Linked DNA regions of Homo sapiens: all the other regions are linked to region 1. The links are contacts of gene promoters, found by promoter capture Hi-C in blood cells and fetal thymus (Javierre and others, 2016). All regions are on one chromosome and are shown on one strand. Each heading gives the region's core, a stretch centred on a gene start or on the middle of the fragment in contact. The rest is flanking DNA. Distances are from core to core; before and after follow the strand shown. Region 1 holds the start of KLHL15 (kelch like family member 15). Region 2 has its middle 42 kb from the start of CXorf58. Region 3 overlaps CXorf58 (chromosome X open reading frame 58).

Region 1 (4,350 bases), core at 141-2,640:
CGGTTTCCCACCGAGGAAAACAGGCGGCCGGGCGTCGCGGCCCTGGACTGGGCCCGACGCAGCTTCCCCCGCGGCGCCGCCGTCGGGGCTGAGGACACTCAGCTGTCCTCGTCCCCTTGCAGCGGTCTCTCTCCGCCTGCACGAGCGATGGGCCCTGAGCCACTGCGGTGCGCCCACCCTCGACAAGTTGAGGGCTAGGAAGCCAGGAAAGTGTCTTTTTGCATCTTGGCCACGGTGGGGGTGGGGGAATCGGGGACAACGTGGAGGGAGCTTTTCCATAGCTACCTGTTATAAAAGTGACTAGATCTGCGCCAAATGACATCATTTTTTGTAAGGCAACTTGCAGTGGACTATTGCGTCACTGTCCACTTGGCTTACTGCACAACAATTACACGTTTCAGAAATCGATTTCCCAAGGGTGGGAAAATTCATAAAAAATTGCATGTCTGCACCACCCGGAGATAATGCCGGATTTAAAAAAGCTGTCTCTACTTGCGTCAAAATAATCAAGAACGAACATTCAGAGGGCAGTGATTTTTGTTGTTCGTTTTTTATAGAATTCTAGCTAGTACTTTTTAAATATTACCTTTTCTTGACAAGAATATAAAACTAGACTATAGGACTGTTTTGTAAATTTATTATGGCATCTCTTTCTGGGAAAAGTGTAGATGACGGAAATACACAGTTGGAAGCCCGTGGATCTACAATTAACCTTAAATTAGGGCATCCATTGCCCATAGCAGATCCTAAACTGAGGTATTTCGGCTTCCCCCACCCCCACCCCCCGCCGCCATTTTCTCTCTAGACCAATATCCCGATGAACTTTCCGTGAGAGGTGTCGCTAAAAGCGATAATTATCTCTTTCTAGCAAACTTGAACATACCATCTTTCCCAAGAGGCCAAAATAGCACACGGTGTACTGTTTTGCTGAAGTAGACTACTTCGTGGGAGAGATAACACAATCACTTCAATCTTTTGGAAATACGCTTCCTTATTCCGATTTAAACTATAACAAGCTTTAAAAAAACTGTAAGACACTGAAATTCCCAAGTTGTTCACACTTTCTTTCCATCTTTTCCAATAGCTCCTTTAAGATATTTCTGTTCATTATTTAAAAATCCCTGCTTGCCATATTTGTATCTATTACTACATGACAAATTACCCCAGAATTTCACATTAAAACAAATTTTTAAAATTAAATCATAAAATAAACTTTAAAAATGCATACATTCCACTTCTGAATATTTAAATGTTCATGCATTATTCCCGAACATCTAAACGCTGAGTTTGGATTTTTGTACATTAACTAACATTTTAAGCTATACATTACTATGTGGCACTGACCTGTCTAAAGAGAGGCTTCTGTTCTTGATTCAAGCAAGAGTTGAAACGTTTCTGCGCTCTTTGTACCAGGTATAAATGTAGTGAGTGTATGTCATAAGCCATTGTGTGATCACCGTGCTTCCCGTCCCTCCTTATTTTGACATTGCAAGGTCTCGTGGAATTTCAAATGTGCTTTTTTGGATATTTATGTAGTTTTAAAACTGGGCTGTGTCTTTCAATCAATCTATACGTTTACTATATGAACCCCTCCCCAAGTTATCTTCAATCAATGATGCCTCTTTCACTCTTATTTCTTATTTTTATGTTATTATTATTATTTTTTTTTTGAGACAGTCTCACTCTCGGCCAGGCTGGAGGGCAGAGGCATGATCTCAGCTCACTGCAGCCTTGACCTCCCGGGCTCAAGCAATCCTTCCACCTCAGCCTCCCGAATAGCTAGGACCACAGACGTGCCCCACCATGCTCGGCTAACTTTTCTTTTCTTGTTTTTGTTTGTTTGTTTGTTTTGTTTTTGTTTGCTTGTTTTTTTCTGAGATGGAGTCTGTCGCTCAGGCTGGGGTGCAGTGGATCTCGGCTGACTGCAACCTCCGCCTCCCGGGTTCAAGCGATTATCCTGCCTCAGCCTCCCGAGTAGCTGGGATTACAGGCGCTCGCCACCGTGCCCAGCTAACTTTTGTATTTTTAGTAGAGACGGGGTTTCACTGTGTTGGCTAGGCTGGTCTCAAACCCCCGACCTCATGATCGCCCGCCTTGGCCTCCCAAAGTGCTGGGATTACAAGCGTGAGCCACTGCACTCCAGCTCAGGCAACAGAGCAAAAACACCGTCTCAAAAAAAAAAAAGAAAAGAAAATATATTTTAACTTTCCCCACCAATTTCTGGACTGTAATGGGAGTTGTTAAATACCTTGAGAGTATCCTTTCACACTGGTAGAGTCCCACAGAGGTAGATGGAAGCTGTCTTTTCTTAGCCCTCTAGCCTAAGTATTTGAGAATACACATTCCTCAATAGCTATTTATTTAGCAGCTAGCGAGGTCGGAAGCATGCTAGAAGCCTGGGCCTGGGAGTGCTGGTGGAGTTGGAATGAGGTTCTTCCCCAGGGGTTCTGAGGATTTAGGATACTGCATACCCTCCTCCTCCCTCCTGTTTTTGCTTTTTAAGAAATTGAGGCCAGGCGTGGTGGCTCACGCCTGTAATTCCAGCACTTTGGGAGGCCGAGGCGGAAGGATCATTAGAGGTCAGGAGTTGGAAACCAGCCTGACGAACATAGTGAAACCCCGTCTCTATTAAAAATACAAAAAATTAGCTGGCATGGTGGTGCGGGCCTGCGGTCCCAGCTACTCAGGAGGCTGAGGTAGGAGTATGGCTTGAGCCCAGGAGGCAGAGGTTGCAGTGAGTCGAGATTGCACCACTGCACTCCAGCCTGGACAACGGAACTAGACGCTGTCTCAAAAAAAAAAAAAAGAAAAGAAAAGTTGAGGCTTTTCAGAAATTCCCAGTCTGTGGTAGTTGTCTTGGTAATCACTTTTCTTTTTACTTTTTTTTTTTTTCTTTTTTTTGAGACAGAGTCTCCCTCTATCATCCAGGCTGGAGTGCAGTGGCGTGATTGGCTCACTGCAACCTCTGCCTCCCAGGTTCAAGTGATTCTCCTGCCTCAGCCTCCCAAGTAGCTGGGACTACAGGCACACACCACCACGCCCAGCTAAATTTTGTAACTTTAGTAGAGATGGGTTTTCCCATGTTGGCCAGGCTGGTCTCGAACTCCTGACCTCTAGTAATCCATCCACCTCAGCCTCCCAAAGTGTTGGGATTACAGGCGTGATCAACCGCACCCAGCCACCCCATGATCTTTCCACTGTACCATGTAATTATATTAACATAGTAAATGATCTTCACATAGTTGTATTTTTATTCCTACTTAATTCCACAAATTGTTGGTTTGCAATCTACTATACTATTTATTTATTCATTCCATAAGTATGTGTAAGTGCCTAGTACATGCCAAGTCTTGTTCTACCCACTGGGGATCCATCAGTGAATAAAACATATGAAAACTCTAGCCCTTGTACGGATTACATGTGTCAGGTAATAAAATAAATAAGCAAATTATGTGGCCTGTTAGAATGTGGTAAATGTGGCCGGGTGCGGTGGCTCACGCCTGTAATCCCAGCACTTTGAGAGGCTGAGGTGGGTGGATTACTTGAGGTCAGGAGTTCGAGACCAGCCTGGCCAACACGGGAAACCCCATCTCTACTAAAAATACGAAGAAATTAGCCAGGCGTGGTGGCACATGCCTGTAATCCCAGCTATTTGGGAGGTTGAAGCAGGAGAAGTGCTTGAACCCGGGAGACTGGGCGAAAGAGGGAGACTCTGCCTCAAAAAAAATATATATTATTTTCATAGAAGTTTTAATGACTTATGAAATTGTTTCTAATATAATCTTATGTGAAAATGCAGGACAAAAAAAAACTATAATTGCACTGATCACAGTAACACTGAACCCTCAGAGGTAGTTTTCTGTTGACTCCTTATTTTCCTGAGTATGGGTCACACTTTGCTGTTTCTTTGTACATCCTGTTTCTTTTAGATAATATGTTGTAGCAACTCTGGACTCTGTATTAACCCACTCCCAATCCAGGTGGTGGTAGAGTTTGCTATTTTTAGATTTGTTGTTTGTGTGGTGGTCAGCCTGGACTAATTCTGTGGCGTCTATTCCCCAAATCGGGATGTGATAAATGCTATGGAAAATAACAGAGCTGGGGAAGGGTGTTCCAGTTTTAACTGGGATGATCAAAGTAGGAGGTATCATTTGAGCCTTGCCTTCAATGAAATTAGGGACCAGAGTGTATAAAACCTGGTAGGCAATTGTAAGGTCTTTGGCCTGTGAGAAATTGGGAACCACTGGAAGCTTTGGTGAAGAGGACCAATATGATTTGACACTCAGGCTGCTATGTAAGTAACAGAATTTAGGTGGACTAGGGCAGAAGCAGGGAGATGGGTTAGGAGAC
Region 2 (3,859 bases), core at 950-3,449, 77 kb before region 1:
TCTTAGTCTGTTTAGGCTGCTATAACAGACTACCATAAACGGGGCAGTTTATAAACAACAGAAACTTCTCACAATTCTGGAGGCTGAGAAGTCCAAAATCAAGGCACTGGCAGATTCAGAGTCTGGTGAGGGCTTGCTTCCTGGCTCATAGGTGGCTGTCTTTTCCCATGACAGAAAAGGGCAAGTGGGGTCTCTTATGAGGGCACTAATCCCATTCATGAGAGTGCTACCCTAGTGACCTAAATCACTTTCCAAAGGCCCCATCTCTACCATCACACTGGAGGTTAGAATTTCAACATATGAATTGGGGTGGGGGTGGGAACACAATCATTCAGTCTATAGCCATGTCCAAAACTGAAAAATCAAGAAGTATCTAATTTTGAGAGATGGAGGTCAATACCAAAAGAATCAGATAAAATATTTGAAACTGTTGCCTCTGAGGATCAGAAAATGGAGAACTATTTGATTTTTAAAACTGCAAGTATGCATTTGATTTTAAAAACTAAATTTAAAAAACACAAGAAAGTCGGGGAATTGTTAGGATGAATACAAGAGCGTGCTAAAGTGGCTCATACTTAGCTTGCTGTTGTTAAATTTTTAACATTCATTGTTAAATTTTCAGGAATTTTGTGAGCTGGTTGGTAAGTATAGCCATTATTAAAAATTAAACTGTAGTCAGGCACAGTGGCTCATGCCTGTAATCCCAGTGCTTTGGGAGGCCGAGACAGGTGGATCACTTGAGCACAGGAGTTTGAGACCAGCCTGGGCAACATGGCAAAACTCCATCTCTACAAAAATTTTTTTTTAAATTAGCTGGGCATGGTGGCACATGCCTGTAGTCCCAGCTGCGTGGGAGGCTGAAGTCGGAGGATCGCTTGAGCCTGGGAGGCAGAGGCTGCAGTAAGCTGAGATCGTGCCACTGCACTCCAGCTTGAGTGACAGAGCCAGACACTGTCTCAAAAAGAAAAAAAAATGAATTGTATAAACTCGTAATTGTATAGTTTACTTAGGTAACCTGTATTAAAATCACAGGTAAAACTTCTCAAAAAGTATCGCTTCTAATTATTTTAATTATTATTTAAGGAGAATCATTCTAATGATTCTACATTTTACATTCTATGATATGAGTTCTTGATTCTATTTTTTTTTTGAGATGGAGTTTCGCTCTTGTTGCCCAGGCTGGAGTGCAATGGTGTGATCTCGCCTCACTGCAACCTCCCCCTCTCGGGTTCAAGCGATTCTCCTGCCTCAGCCTCCTGAAAAGCTAGGACTACAGGCACCCACCACCACGCCCGGCTAATTTTTGTATTTTTAGCAGAGACGGAGTTTCACTATATCGGCCAGGCTGGTCTCGAACTCCTGACCTTGTGATGTGCCTGCCTCGGCCTCCCAAAGTGCTGGAATTACAGGTGTGAGCCACTGTGCCCGGCCGATTCTATTTATATCTATTGTATCTGTATGGTGGAAATGCTGTAGAGTGATGTGCTACTAGACATCTCTTGCCAACTGTTGTGACGTCATGTTGGTAATTTGAAAACATATATATGTATATATTTCTTGTTGTGTATTAAACTTTTAAAAGTATAACACATCTATAGAAAATCATATAAAATGATTTTACAGTTGAATGCATTATTGTAAGGCAAGACACCTTAGTAACTACCATCCACGTCAGAAGAAAGAGTCATACCTGACCACCCCAGAAACCCTCTACCTGGCCCTGCACCTCGTCTCTTAAGAGTAACTATTCTCCTGGCTTTTATGGTAATCACCTCATTCTTTTATAGTTTCCTCACCTAAGCATGCACCCATACACAATGTAGTTTAATTTTGCCTCTTTTTTTATATGGTTTTTATTTCTTTTTAATCTGTAGGTTCCCTATCCACCTCTTTTTTTCTCCCCCATTACAATTTGTTAATTAAACTGGATCATTCATTCTGTAACATTTCCCATGATCTAGACTTTGCTGATTGAATTCCTTGGTGTAGCTAACACGTAACTCTGTCCTCTGTATTTCCTGTAAATTGGATCTAGAGAATCATTCTTTTCTTCTTCTTCCTTTTTTTTTTTTTTTTTTGAGACAAGTTCTCACTCTGTCGCCCAGGCTGGAGTGCAGTGGCATGATCTCGGCTCACTGCAACCTCCACCTCTCAGGCTCAAGCAATCCTCCCACCTCAGCCTCCCGAGTAGCTGGAACTACAGGCTGTGCCACCATGCCCGGCTGATGTTTGTATTTTTCGTAGAGGCAGGGTTTCACCATGTTGCCCAGGCTGGTCTTGAACTCCTGAGCTCAAGCGATCGGGCCACCTCAGCCTCCCAAGGTATTGGGATTATAGGTGTGAGCCACTGTGTCTGGCCTTAAGAGACTAATTCTTTATTATTAAAAACAGTGACAACAACAAAAATACCAATTCAGTAAATATATGTTGAATATCTACTACATGCCTGAATAGGATAAAAATATGAAGTAATTATTAAGGACATTTATCATTTTAGGCAACTTGACAGGATCTTCTCGGGGGACAAATTGTTACGGTTTACTCTATGCCATTAGCTTGGTCATCAACTCAGGAGATAGCTCAAAAAATGTGTGGGTGAAATACATATTAACTGACAAAGAGACTCCTCATAATAGCACAGAAATAGTGTAGCAGTGCCTTTCTGAAGAAATTATTAACTGCATAACCACTTGTATACAAAAGGTTGTCTATTTTTCAAGGCTGGTTTTAACAATGGTGCATTGACCAAGCACCACTGACAATGATTACAAATTTTGTAGGAACAATTTGCAGGAATTCAGCAATCAAGGATTTTTAAAAAGAAGAGGAATAAATTTTACTACATATTTCTAAATTATCAGAACCTTAAGTTTAAAAAGGACACCGAAGGCTGGGTGCAGTGTCTCAAGCCTGTAATCCCAACACTTTGGGAGGCCGAGGCGGACGGATCACCTGAGGTCAGCGGATCGAGACCAGCCTCGCGAACATGGTGAAACCTTGTCTCTACTAAAAATACAAAAAAAAAAAAAAAAAAAAAAATTAGCCAGGCATGGTGGCGGGTGCTTGTAATCCCAGCTGCTTGGGAGGCTGAGGCAGGAAAATTGGTTGAACCCAGGAAGCAGAAGTTGCAGTGAGCCAAGATCGTGCCACAGCACTCCAGCCTGGGTGACAAGAGTGAGACTCTCTCAAAAAAAATAAAAATAAAATAAAATGAAAAGGACACAGAATAATAAGATTCTATAACCTGATACTCTCTATCACTTTTTCCTATGGTGGACCAATAACACAGTCTCCCTAACCAATGCTAATTATTTGTAGAATAATATTGACAACTTGAAGAAATGTTGATTTGCTTGAAAGCAAACATCAAGGCTTCCTTTTCATAAACAGTATTTGGCTAAAGTATTTTAAGTGTGGCTTAAGTTACAATTGTTTTGTAGCTTATTTTCATAATGTACTGGTGAATGTATATACTGTTTATACAATTAATGAAGTTTTAGAAACATGAAAACTTACTTCACCTCTATTAAGTCTTTGTTTGTAAGTAAGGTGAGTTGCTCAGATTTCTGGACCAGGAAGATGTGAAAGAGTGAAGATCGTCCAAAGTCCAAAAATTTTCAACCCTGATCTATAAATTTACAGTATTATATTGGCTATGATTCATAGAAATCACATTAAGTTTAAAATATTCATGCATATTATTTTTTAAAGTTCTCCAAGAGTAAGTCATTTCCTTCTATATTTTTGGAAAAGTGAATATTCATTTCTCCCTGGTAATATTAAATTATGACAATCTTTAGCATTCAAATTAACCTGTCAAATTATATTCTTCAAAATTCTCCAACATTTGCAGAGCTAT
Region 3 (4,227 bases), core at 1,356-3,855, 110 kb before region 1:
CACCCAGGCTGGAGTGCAGTGGTGCGATCTCGGCTCACTGCAACCTCTGTCTCCTGGGTTCAAGCGATTCTCCTGCCTCAGCCTTCCGAGTAGCTGGGATTACAGGCATGCACCACCACGCCTGGCTAATTTTTATATTTTCAGTAGAGACGGGGTTTCACCATATTGGCCAGGCTGGTCTCGATCTCCTGGCCTCAGGTGATCCCACCCGCCTCGGCCTCCCAAACTGCTGGAATTACAGGCGTGAGTCACTGTGTCTGGCCTAGCCTTTTCTTCTTTATATCTTGTAGCCTGCATTTTGCCAGCCAATGGGTAGCATTATGCAGGAGTACCTGTCTTTGTACATAGCGCTGTAAGGGGTAATGATGGGGTGAGAAGGTATGAAGGAGGAGACCCCTACAATCTGCCAGTGCTGGGATATGATCAAAAGTAGAATAATTCCGACTTGACCTGGATGAGCCTGGTTCAAGCAAAGATCAGAGAAGGAAGTTTCTTTTTCTAGGGCATAGTCATCCACCCCCAGAAGAGAACTGGGCCTCCTGTAACTTTGACTATTCCCCATTCCATTTTCATAGCACTTGAACTAGTTGGACGTTTCATTTTAGGTCGTGAATGTTTTTGGGAAGTAAGCTTGTCTCCTCATACTTTTTATTTATAATATACATGCCTCTTAATGATATATTTATATTTTATATGCCTTTTGATGACAAAGTTTTGGCCAGGACTTTTTTTTTTAATCTCAAGGGAAATCTCCTCAAGTATTTCATATCCTCATTCTGAGTAGATTCTGCAAATGACCACTTCCAATTACCACATCCAAATGTTCCTCATTAGGTCAGTCTTAGAGTGGGGGATGGGGAGGTACAGGAGGAGGAAGCATAAATTGATAGTTCTCTAAGGTTTTAGGAAAATGAAAACTACTTTATAAATATTAACCTCTTTTTTTCTCTCAGAATGCTTAAAGACATTTCAGCTCAAATAATACAGAGGGCTTGGTTATCTCATACAAACAAAATGATATTTCGACTCCTAAAACACGCAATTTGTGCAGCGGTATGTATTTTGCTTATTTTTTTCTCTGAGGGATTTAATTATCAAGCTAAAAGATCTATTAATTAAAGATCGAATAGATAACCTTCTTTATCTCCTCTTTTTTTTTTTTTTTTGAGAGGGAGTCTGGCTCTTTCACCCAGGCTGGAGTGCAGTGGCACAATCTTGGCTCACTGCAACCTCTGCCTCCCAGGTTCAAGCGATTCTTCTGCTTCAGCCTCCCAAGTAGCTGGGACTACAGGCACCTGTCACCATGCCTGGCTAATGTTTTGTATTTTTAGTAGCGATGGGGTTTCACCATGTTAGCCAGGATGATCTCGATCTCCTGACCTCGTGATCTGCCTGCCTTGGCCTCCCAAAGTGCTGGGATTACAGGCGTGAGCCACCACGCCCGGCCCTTTCTTTATCTCTTCTATTTGGATCTAATAATATCACGTGGAGTTCTGGAATTGTTTCTTCTGTTAGCCCTAGATGAGTATTTCTGGATTTTTTAAAATGTGGATGACTATTACTTTTTTCTGAAATTAATATACTGCTTGCCTTGTTTTGTTTTTAAATTTGATTCCTTATTTGAAAATGTGAGACAGTTCTCTTCCAACAATAAAAAGCTCCGAATCTGCAAGGTGCAGCATCTCACGCCTGTAATCCCAGCACTTTGGGAGGCCAAGGCAGGGAGGGCCAGGAGTTCGAGACCAGTTTGGCCAACATTGAGAAACCCTGTCTCTACTAAAATACAAAAAAATAGCCAGGCGTGGTGGCATGAGCCTGTAGTCACAGCTACTTGGGAGGCTGAGGCAGGAGAATTGCTTGAACCCAGGAGGTGGAGGTTATGGTGAGCGGAGATTGCGCCACTACATTCCAGCCTGGGCGACAGTGAGACTCTGTCCCCCTTCAAAAAGCTCTGAATTAAAAGTTCCCTTACCTTTTATCCAGCAATTTTACTTCTAAGAATCTGTTCTACAATACATACACAATTTGATTGCACCGTTGTTTGTAACAGCAAAGGGAGTAAACTGTATAATATCTATTGATATGATGCTGGTTAAATAAGTGTTGCTGCTTTTATAGTGTTAAACTTTGCAGCTTTAACATGATTCTGCAATAGAAAGGAAATGAAGATAGCTCATCAGTTAAAAAAGCAAGCACCAGACAGTATGAAGAGCATGATCCTACTTGAGTGAAAACCAAAACCAAAAAAAAAAGGTGCATATCCCCCCTCCTCCAGAAAGCAACTCTGGCAACCCTAGCAGAGCCTTCCTTGGCATAGTACCAAATATTCTAATAAAACAACCTATAAATCCAGTAGTCTATTATTAGTGATACTCTTTTTTTTCTTTTCTTTTTTGAGATGAAGTCTCACTCTGTTGCCCAGGCTGGAGTGCAGTGGCATGATCTTGGCTCACTGCAACCTCCACCACCCAGGTTCAAGTGATTATCCTGCCTCCGCCTCCCTAGTAGCTGGGACTACAGGTGCGTGCCGCCATGCCCAGCTAATTTTTTTTTTTTTGTACTTTTAGTAGAGACAGGGTTTCACCATGTTAGCCAGGCTGGTCTCAAACTCCTGACCTCAGGTGATCCACCCTCCTTGGCCTCCCAAAGTGCTGGGATTACAGGCGTGAGCCACCACACCCGGCCAATTAGTGATACTCTTAAGGGAATTTTAGCAGCTCTGAAAAAAATAATAAAGTCTGAGCAATGTATACACCGTTCACCATCTGACCCACAGACCTATTTCTGATGTCAGTAAAAGCAGAATACGGCTGGGCACAGTGGCTCACACCTGTAATCCCAGCGTGAGCTGGGATCTTTAGGAGGCCGAGGCGGGTGGATTGCCTGAGGTCAGGAGTTCGAGACCAGTCCGGTCAACATGGTGAAACCCCGTCTCTACTAAAAATACAAAAAAATTAGCCGGGCATGGTGGTGTGCGCCTGTAATCCCAGCTACCTTGAACCGGGGAGGTGGAGGTTATAGTGAGCCGAGTTTGAGCCACTGCACTCCAGCCTGGGCGACAGAGCAAGACTCCGTCTGAATACTTCAGAGAAAACCCACCCAGGTAAACTCCTGGCATTTCAGGTCTATTATCCATTGTCTTTGAATATGGAACTTGTATTTAATTTTATAATGCTGGTTTCATAGTATTTTTAGACTTTTGTAACAGAAGGAAATTCTTTTTTATCTGTTATAGTAATACTTTAATACCTTAAATTAATAATGCTTTGTCCTTTTAAAAGCTATTTATTTATTTATTTTGAGACAGAGTCTTGCTCTGTCACCCAGGCTGGAGTGCAGTGGCACGATCTCGGCTCACTGCAACCTCTGCCTCCCGGGTTCAAGCGATTCTCCTGCTTCAGCCTCCCAAATAGCTTGGACTACAGGCGCCTGCCATCACGCCTGGCTAATTTTTGTATTTTTAGTAGAGATGGGGTTTCACCATGTTGACCAGGTTGGTCTCGAACTCTTGACCTCAGGTGATCCTCCCGCTTTGGCCTCCCAAAGTGCCAGGATTATAGGCGTGAGCCGCAGTGCCCAGCCTAAAAGCTCTTTAGTGTACATTTTTATGTGATTATCATAGGCATAACGGGGTTGGTTGGGGTTGTTTGGGGGAAAGAGTTGGGACTTTAGAGTCAAACAGAACTAAATGAATCCTGGCTTCCCCATTCACTACCTGTATGCCTTTTTATAAATTACAAAAATTCCCTGAGCCTCAGCCTTCTCATCTGTAAAATAGGCGTGATAATATTCTCATAATGGGCCAGGTGCAGTGGCTCACGCCTGTAATCCCAGCACTTTGGGAGGCTGAGGCGGGTGGATCACCTGAAGTCGGGAGCTCGAGACCAGCCTGACCAACATGAAGAAACCCCATCTCTATTAAAAATACAAAATTAGCCAGGCATGGTGGCGCATGCCTGTAATTCCAGCTACTCAGGAGGCTGAGCAGGAGAATCACTTGAACCTGGGAGGTGGAGGTTGCGGTGAGCCGAGATCATGCCATTGCACTGCAGCCTGAGTGGTGGCTCACACCTGTAATCCCAGCACTTTGGGAGGCTGAGGCGTGCGGCTCACAAGGTCAGGAGTTCCAGGCCAGCCTGGCCAATATGGTGAAACCCCGTCTCTACTGAAAAAATACAAAATTAGCCGGGCGTGGTGGCAGGTGCCTGTAGTCCCAGCTACTCGGGA

What was found. The method cuts DNA at HindIII sites, captures the fragments that hold promoters and counts their contacts. A CHiCAGO score of 5 or more calls a contact.
Region 2: a contact is called between a fragment that was not itself captured here and the fragment with the promoter of KLHL15 in region 1, in 5 of 17 cell types (activated CD4 T cells, total CD8 T cells, naive CD4 T cells and 2 more). The highest score is 9.2, in activated CD4 T cells.
Region 3: a contact is called between a fragment that was not itself captured here and the fragment with the promoter of KLHL15 in region 1, in 17 of 17 cell types (activated CD4 T cells, naive B cells, total B cells and 14 more). The highest score is 34.9, in activated CD4 T cells.

The regions. Positions count from the first base shown.
Region 1 is chrX:24,025,796-24,030,145 of GRCh38, forward strand. It overlaps KLHL15 (kelch like family member 15), which reads right to left and starts at 1,391. Exons shown (of 4, transcript NM_030624.3): 1 at 1,345-1,391. RefSeq lists enhancers at 1-259, 260-763, 1,971-2,470 and a silencer at 1-92. The HindIII fragment of the contact is 3,234 bases long and covers 1,015-4,248 here.
Region 2 is chrX:23,948,486-23,952,344 of GRCh38, forward strand. No RefSeq gene overlaps it. Among named protein-coding and RNA genes, the nearest start is that of CXorf58, 42 kb to the left of the region's middle. The HindIII fragment of the contact is 8,514 bases long and covers 1-3,859 here.
Region 3 is chrX:23,910,804-23,915,030 of GRCh38, forward strand. It overlaps CXorf58 (chromosome X open reading frame 58), which reads left to right. Exons shown (of 9, transcript NM_152761.3): 3 at 954-1,053. Among named protein-coding and RNA genes, the nearest start is that of CXorf58, 4.9 kb to the left of the region's middle. The HindIII fragment of the contact is 3,954 bases long and covers 629-4,227 here.